Linked DNA regions of Homo sapiens: region 2 is linked to region 1. The links are contacts of gene promoters, found by promoter capture Hi-C in blood cells and fetal thymus (Javierre and others, 2016). All regions are on one chromosome and are shown on one strand. Each heading gives the region's core, a stretch centred on a gene start or on the middle of the fragment in contact. The rest is flanking DNA. Distances are from core to core; before and after follow the strand shown. Region 1 holds the start of MAP3K4 (mitogen-activated protein kinase kinase kinase 4). Region 2 overlaps PRKN (parkin RBR E3 ubiquitin protein ligase).

The links. Contacts are between HindIII fragments. The CHiCAGO score rates a contact against its expected background, and 5 or more counts as called.
Region 2: a fragment that was not itself captured here is called in contact with the fragment with the promoter of MAP3K4 in region 1 in 1 of 17 cell types (monocytes); the score reaches 7.5 in monocytes.

The regions. Positions count from the first base shown.
Region 1 is chr6:160,989,717-160,993,886 of GRCh38, reverse strand. It overlaps MAP3K4 (mitogen-activated protein kinase kinase kinase 4), which reads right to left and starts at 2,118. Exons shown (of 27, transcript NM_005922.4): 1 at 1,804-2,118. The coding sequence starts at 1,955. It overlaps MAP3K4-AS1 (MAP3K4 antisense RNA 1), which reads left to right and starts at 1,545. Exons shown (of 1, transcript NR_174962.1): 1 at 1,545-3,569. RefSeq lists silencers at 1,313-1,442, 1,356-1,650, 2,113-2,442 and enhancers at 1,711-2,580, 2,533-2,602, 2,623-2,682. The HindIII fragment of the contact is 10,290 bases long and covers 1-4,170 here.
Region 2 is chr6:162,720,574-162,724,624 of GRCh38, reverse strand. The region is part of intron 1 of PRKN (parkin RBR E3 ubiquitin protein ligase); the gene reads left to right. Among named protein-coding and RNA genes, the nearest start is that of PRKN, 5.2 kb to the left of the region's middle. The HindIII fragment of the contact is 1,499 bases long and covers 1,659-3,157 here.

The DNA.
Region 1 (4,170 bases), core at 869-3,368:
TTAACTGCAATGTTGCTAAGAAAAATATTGAGATCTTCTTGTTCCGTACACTGCTGTTCACTTACAGTTGGATGAAACCCATTATCCTGACCTATTTTTATTATAACACAGACAGAAGCCTGACTGAAAAGTCAAGTTTTTTTTTTTTTTTACCACTGAAGCAGCAGTCATTTTTGCAGCACATTTTCATTTCTCTGCCCTTCTCGCTTTTACCTAAGAATGCTCATGTCCATTTCTTTCCGGAGTAGGGTTATACAGAATTCTAATTTCTGATCCGCCCATTTGGATAATGAATTCTTCATGGTGGTTAAAGACATGGGCTGTGCAGCCAGACCTTTCTTCATTACCAGCTGTGAAACCCTGGACAAGATACTTAAACTGTGTGCCTCAGTTTCCTCATCTGTCAAAAAGAGAGTATAACAGGACCTACCTCATAGAGTTGTTGAAAAGATTAAATGGGTTAATAGAAATAAAGACAATGGCCTATTTTAACCGTTAAGTGTTCACTATTAATTTTAAAGAAAAAGGTATCAAAATTGCTCGAAAACTGATCCGTTAACAAATTTATAATAAACTTTCTGACAAAATTTCTAAAAATACTAGATGTATTCAAAAGGAACCAAAGGAATTCTCATTACACCCTGTACCATTATTCAGAGAAGTTGTTCCTTAGAAGTACCCAGAACTATCTCAGAATTAAAAGAGGCAACTAATTTCTTCACAGCTTATAAAAATAAAACAAATTTGTTTGGGCCAACTGAATGATGACAAGCAAGAATATGGCTCCTGTGTTCAGTTCTAACTACAGTTACAGGTGTGAATTTTCTTTAAGCAGGAAAAAGAGGACACTTTACTGCCTTATTCCTAGAACCATAGAGCAAGACCATAAGATGCCAAGAGGAGCTGCCGAGGTATTTTCATTACAGGGGACAGGGGGCAGCAGTTTGCAAGTTTACTCTGGGATGCAAAGGACAGGGAGTAAGAGGACATTTGAACATACAAACATAGGCACGTAAAAAGAGGGAAATTCTCAGTTATGGTGAGTTTGTTCTCTCAATTAAAAAAAAAATAAAGACATAAAAATAAGTTAATAGAGTATGGAAGAAAAAGCAACAAATGCTTTGGTTACCGAAGTTCCACCTTAGAGCTTCCTGCAGTAGCAAAGTTTTAGACAAATGAATCCTTACTTTTGTGCACGTGTGAGCAACAATCTGCACAATACTAGCACTAAAGGACAGTAAGGGGCCCTCAGAACAGGAAAGCAACGTATCTGTCTGCATAGTCTAAGTGCAATTTCTCACGGAAGAGATGACAGGCATTCTCTGGAGCGGGCAAAAGGAGAGGAGGAGGAGAACGCGGGGAAATAGCCAGTACGCACTCGATTTCCGAATGTCTCTTTTACTCGAATGAGGGCAGAGGGGAGGGACCACTTTCGTTCAGTAATGATGAGAGGCACTTCAGTGAGGCCACTCTTCCGAAGCTAGCGGCAGGGGAGGCAGCCGCACTCTGCTCCCAGCCCCCGCAACGTTGAGGGTGAGCTGGGGGAGTCTACAAGGGAAGGGGAGCCGGCAACACGCTCGAGCGGAACCCTGCGGAGCTGCAACCCCGGGAGGAGTCGCCGGACAGACTCAGACGCGGTCCCCTGGGACCCAGGGATGCACCGCGCCCCTCCCGCCCCAGCCTGCAGAGACTGGATGCTTCCCTCCCCACCTGGCGGGAAGCAGAGGCCCTCGGGCCCGACCGAGTTCGGGCCAGGACCCGCCCCGCTTTCTGCGAGCGACCGACTGCGGCCGCCACACTCACCTCGCCGCCAAGCAGCACTCGGGTTCTGACTCGGTCTCGGGTTCCGGTGGCGGTGGTGGCGGCGGCGGCGGTGGCGGCGGCTCCTCCATGGCGGCGGCAGGCGTGACGGCAAAGGCGGGAGGAGGGACCAGCGCGGCAGCGGCTTCTCTCATCCGTGCACGGAGCCCCGCATGGCCGCGGCGGGCAGTAAGCTGCAGCCTGGCGCGGGGCACCGGAGCCCCGAAGTGCGGGAGTGACTCGACTCCGCCTCCGCCTCTACCCCGCCGCAGGAGCCGTGCGCGCCGCGGCCATCTTGGAAACGGCGACCGGCCGAGCGCCGGGGCTACGGTGGGCGGCGAGGGACAAGCCTCCCAGATCGGCGGCGGTGGCGGCGGCGGCGGCGGGCGCCGGAATGCGACCGGACGGGGGCGGAGACGGCGGCAGGGAGGGGCGGGGAGCGCCGTCAAGTGTCGGCGCGATTCGGTCCTGGAGCCGGGTCTCGCCAGCTCGCCCGGTGTCGCCCCGGCCGGTGGCAGTGGGGGACTGTGGAGCGGAGCCGGGCTGTGCAGCGGGCTGGGAGCTCGAGGCTTCCCAGGCGGTCGTCGGTCTGGGAGGGACGCTGGGTAGGGCCGATGAGCGGGGCGGGCGCGACGCTATGAGCCCGGCCGGAGTCGCCGCCCAGGGACCTGCCACCCGGATCCCACCTTCCAGGAGGACGGACGTCACCCAGACGCTCGCAACTCCGGTCTCTTGACAGCGCAGCCTTCCACAGGCTCGAATTTTTAAGACTTGACATAAAGTCTCCGGAATTCCAGATTATTAAAGTGACCCCCTCATTTCAACCCGGCAAAACTTCTCACCCCAGTGTCATAAGATTCGATAGCGATCTCCCAGAAACTTGGACTGGAATGCTCCTACACTGAGGGGATGGGGGGAAGAAGAAATGCTAAAGATTATTTCAGAGTTACAGAAATCCTGTTGAAATTCCAATGCATCGTTTACTCTTAGCGCTGGGGCTTCACAGTTTTTTTTTAAGTTGGAAATATTTACAAAATTTCCCATAGGGTGAAATCCAGAGTTAATCCAAAACCAGAATCTTTTAAAATTAAGTACATTCAAATGTGCAGATTTCTTAAACCTCATTTAGTTGAGCTTTGATAGGTGAAACGCACGTTTTGAACAACTCTGGTAACAAAGAAAAACATTAAATTGATTATAGGTATGTTATATTTAAAGACCAGTTGTGAAATTAGCTATATTGTGCTCAAAGTATGTTACTGACATTTCTCCGTCGTTAAAAGGAACTGCTCCATTCTAGTTTTTTATAATAGTCTGTATTATGTATATAGCCTGATAGTGCTGAATTTCTGAATTGACCTTCATCTTATTTACTCAATAATATTCATTTGACAAATACTTATTAAGTGCATATATGTGTCAGGAACTGTACTAGATGCTGAGGATATAGCAGTAAGCGCAACAGACCAAGCTAACAGCTTAGTAAAGGGTGAGGTAAAACAAAACAAAAAAGTATTCAAAAAAATAAACTAATTTTTATCTTAATTTAAAAAATTACAAATTTTTAAAAATCACAAATTGGTATCCATGTATAATTCATTTCCGTGCATTTTCTTGTGTGAAGAAAGCTCAGTAAAAGTATTTCTTAGGTTTCTGTAATTCTAGTTCTCTACTCGATTTTCTTCTGCAATTTTCTGAGCCAGAACCCTTCTTAGAAGGCATATTAGAGACTTTAAAAGTTAAATAATAAAATAAATCTCTTCTTTAAACAGCATTGTACTACGTATTCTTTGGTATGACTACCGAATTTAAGCTAGCTGATAATGCAGACACGTGTGTCCAAGTCACAAAACACTTAGCAAATATAATCAGCATGCGGGAGACCTGTGGCTTGTTCTTGTGTTTTAATTTCCACTTGAGGATACTATGTATTTTAGCAGGAACCAAGTAAATTTACACTTACCTAATCAAGTAATGCATCATGTATAGAAACCTAAGTTAACTGGTACTAAATATTCAATATAAGTGTTGTGACTTTTCGCCCCACCCCCATGCTGGGTCCAGGAAAGCTGTTTCTCTGGCTGACAACCCTCTCATCTCACCCCGTGCCCCCACTTTGTCTTCAGGGCTCCCAGTGAGCGCCTCACAGCCCCCAGATTTCTTTTCTGCCTTCTCCACCATAGTGTAAGCTCCTTCAGGAAAGAAGCTGTTCTTCCTTCTTCTGACCTTTGCCTAGGGATCAAATGTCTCTGGTGCCCAACATGGTGTTAGTAGAACTCAGTAAGTATTGTTGCATTAATGAAATAGTTATTTTTTTTAAGTTATTAGATTTTTGTCTCTAAATTTTTATTCTTGTTTAGCACATGGTTG
Region 2 (4,051 bases), core at 1,159-3,658, 1.7 Mb before region 1:
ACAGGAAAACTTATTTCTCTTTCTTTTTAATTTTATTGTTCTTTAATTTCCCGCCTCAACCTTACTGCGAATAATATTCTGCCACTTTATTTAAATCCTGGCTTAGTTTAAGGAGAAACGTAAAGATGGGTTTCCTGGTAGAATAGGAGTAAACAGGACTGACTGTGACCTCACTGCTAATGACATGTACCTTCCTTTTACTTTCTCAAAACCGAAGATTCCCTTATTGGCATGAGGACTGTTTCAAAAGTACTTACATTTCCCACCTGCATTGTGATTGATGTGTTGAATGCCCTGACCCAGGCAGCTACAGAAACATAATTTAATTGAAGTCGGTTAAAAATTGTGCCTTTGTGGAAAGTGTGGAGAAGGACTTCAAGATGATATAAAGCAGAATAGAAAAGCTTAAAAGAATTCAATTTAGAAAAATGTAATTTTTGGTACCTCTATTAAAAATATATTTTGACTTTTTTAAAAATGAGCAATTCTTTGTGTTTAAAATGGAATGTTAGTGGGGATATTTGTGGTATGTTCTAAATGTTCTGTAGAACTGGATTTAGGTATTTGAGTAACAGCAGATATTAGAGTGCATGGTTATATATACAACAATGTTGTCAGTATTGAAATACACATTCAGTGTCTTAGACTTTTAAGAAGATTTTTGATTGACAAAAACCATTCATTGGAACATAGTCTCTTCTATACCTTGTTTCACTTAGCATCTCTTTGAGAATTTACATATCTGCATGTCCAGATCCACTCCACAGCGATTCCTGCCTAGTCTTTTATAGGATACACTAATTATGAAAATATTTACCAATAAATAAGCACTCATTAGGTTTACAGACAACTGTTGTCAGAAGTGTTTGTGGCCATATCTTTTTACTTGCACATGTAAGCATAGATGTAAAATAAAAATCGTATGACAATTTGAGTTAAAGAGTTTGTAGATTTTACATTTTCCTAGGTATTTCAAAATTTTTCCAAAATAAGTTGCCCAATTTTACAAGCCTATCTAAAGCCTCCACTAATACAACATGGTAGTAAAGAGCTGCCCTGCCCCTCTGGGCTGAAAATTGCCAAAAGACGTCCTTCCTGAGACTGACTCAGCTTTCACTAGCAGAACGCCTCCTGGATCTCCGGTCCCCCACCTCTCTCTCACCCTAGGGGTAGTGCCTTTCAGTGTACAAGCTGCACAACTGTCCTTGGTGGCCCTGCCCTCCCTTTCAGTGTGTATAAGAGTGCCCATTTCCTCCCATGTGCCATCGAAGATTTTTTATTTTTGCCGTCTTGACAGATGAAAAACAGTATCTTTTAACTTTTCAAATTAATTTAGAAGAAAACTTCTCATTCTCATCTTATAGTGCGTTAGTTTTGCAAAAGCAGATCCAGTGATTCCAGCACCTGCTATGTACCCTTAACTGCTCTAGGTGCCAGGGAAACGAGGGAACACAACAGAAAAAGTCCCTTGCCATCAGGAATGTATATTCCGACTTCACCATTTGGCTACACATCTGCATATTTGTTTTCAAGCTTGTGTGCAGTGAATTTTAAAGTCTCAATTTATATTTCTAGTTGAATATACTGTGTACTGCTCTTTGCCCTGCCATTTTGATAAGTTGATGAAAACCAGCTCTATGCCTAAGTACCCCAAAGCTTCTGTTTATAATGAGGTAAAATTGTGTCAAAAATAGGCTCTACTAAAGTTTTGCATAGAAGATTTTATGTAATTATATAATAGTTCTTCCTTGGGTCCAAAGGCTCTAAAATGACCCTTTGCCCTTTACAATTTTGGCCCTATTTCTGAGGATGTTTTTGAAGTCTGCATTTTTTGAAACCTCATAGTTTCATTGCCTGAAAATGATACAATGAAAGTACTTTGTATTAAGATATGTAAATCCATTCCTACCTCCAAAGTTTCTTTGAAAAATGCAAAAAAAAGAGTTCTTACTTCGAAATGCTTCATATTCATGAAAGCAGTTTTAATGCAAAATACTTTATTCTGTTAGCTATTAGTTCTTTGATCAATGAAAATTGTTTCTTACCTGCTGTTTCTGCAGCCTTTAATTGTAGCCCAGTGCTTATTCAATGTTTCTGTTTTAATTTGCATTTAATGAGCTCATTTTAAATGTTTCTTCGTAGTAATCTGAATGGTTTCTCTCCCTCAATTTTGTAATATTAAAGAGACTCATGTGACAGTCGGCTGATTTATGTTGCAGCTCACCTCCCTGGCTTATTTACTTCATCCTGTAGCATAGAATCTTGGTTAAAAGGAATTACAGTAATAGGATTCTTTTCCCCCAGTAATTTCCTAATTACCTAGGACTCTTAACAGATTAACTCAAATGTCTGTTTTTCACCAAATAGAAACCTTTTTTCCTTGAATGAATAGGTATTTATGATTATTATTTCAGTGTCATTTCTTTATACCATATGTATTAGATGGTGCTGGGTAGGGATGGGTACACATAGGTTGTATTTGTCTATATATTGCCTGTGGGGAAGGTACATAGAAATGACCATTTCTTCCCAATAAGTTTGTGGCCTAGTTGGGCTGATTAGGCTTATATTGGTGGTATAGATTGCACCTTCACCACCACAGAAGAAGAGTAATTAGAAAGATGTATGTACATATCAGCACACACATACATGCCTGCAACACGTGATTTTTCATGTTTCTTTTGTTCATTTGATTCTCGTTGATCTGAATGCCCTTTCTTTCTGTTGAACATCTCAAAACTACTGTTCATCACTCAAGATCCAGTTCCAATGGCACCAACTTTATGTGAAATTTTCCATGTCACCTCTTACCCTCTTTTTAGTGTGAGGCAATTAGCACCTCCTTTAGAGTCAGCCAACATTTTAGTAACTACCCTTCATCAGGTCCTTGTTCATAGTCTAGAAGGGGTACAGAAAAGTAAAGATTTACAAACCTGAAAGGTGGGTATCATAATATAGGTTTATACAAGGAAGTACTGGAAAACTCAGCCTATAGAGCTTGGAAGATCCAGCTGTTTCCCAGTGGAGCCATTCCAGTTTTCCTGCAGGACAAGTAGGAGTTAACTAGGTGAAGGCGGCCTTCTAGACAGGCATGGAGGGGAGAGAAGAGAATAGAATGAAAGGTATCTGGTGAGGCTGCAGGCACACCAGATAAGCTTTGTCAAGGAGGTAGGTTTAAAGTTGGCGATAGGGAGGAGTCACTGAACCATTATCTACAAAAGAGCATTATGAACAGGTTGTATTTTAGAAAGATGTCTGTGGCAGTACTAGAAAGTTATGAAATAGAACGTTGTAGAAAATAGTTACACTAGTGCCAGCAAGTCCAGATAAAGTGTTAATAGAGGACTTCTCATGACCTTCATTGTACTTCTTAGATAAAACAGAATACTTGAAATCACTAGTTACGGAGAACAAGCGTTTATAAACTCACTCCATAAAACAAAGGAAAGAAGTCCAGATAATGTTTAATAGAGGACAGTCTTCGACTGAGAATGGCAGGGTAATTGTGCAGTAGGAGATGGCTTTTCTCAGGGTGTTGACATTGATTTGATATGTCATTACATCATCTCTGATTAAAGGCCATATTTCTTTTTAAAAAGTTCTTATTTTTGTAGAATAGATTAATGTCTCTTATTGACAGGTGTTTTATTTCATGTTACTAAAGCTTTATTTGTATTCCAAAAATAGTTTGTATCTCCTTCTTTGATATGTGGAACATGATGCTTAGGGTTCTATTTATAGTTTCTTCTCTGTGTGGAGAGAACAATGTCATCAGAGCTGTGGATATCGTGTCACCCAGAATAGTGCAGAATAGTTTCTTCCTCTTAGATATCTGCATGACTCATATACCTAGGCACATATTAAGACCATCTATGGGCCGGGCGCGGTGGCTCACGCCTGTAATCCCAGCACCTTGGGAGGCCGAGGCGGGTGGATCATGAGGTCAGGAGATCGAGACCATCCTGGCTAACAAGGTGAAACCCCGTCTCTACTAAAAATACAAAAAATTAGCCGGGCGCGGTGGCGGGCGCCTGTAGTCCCAGCTACTCGG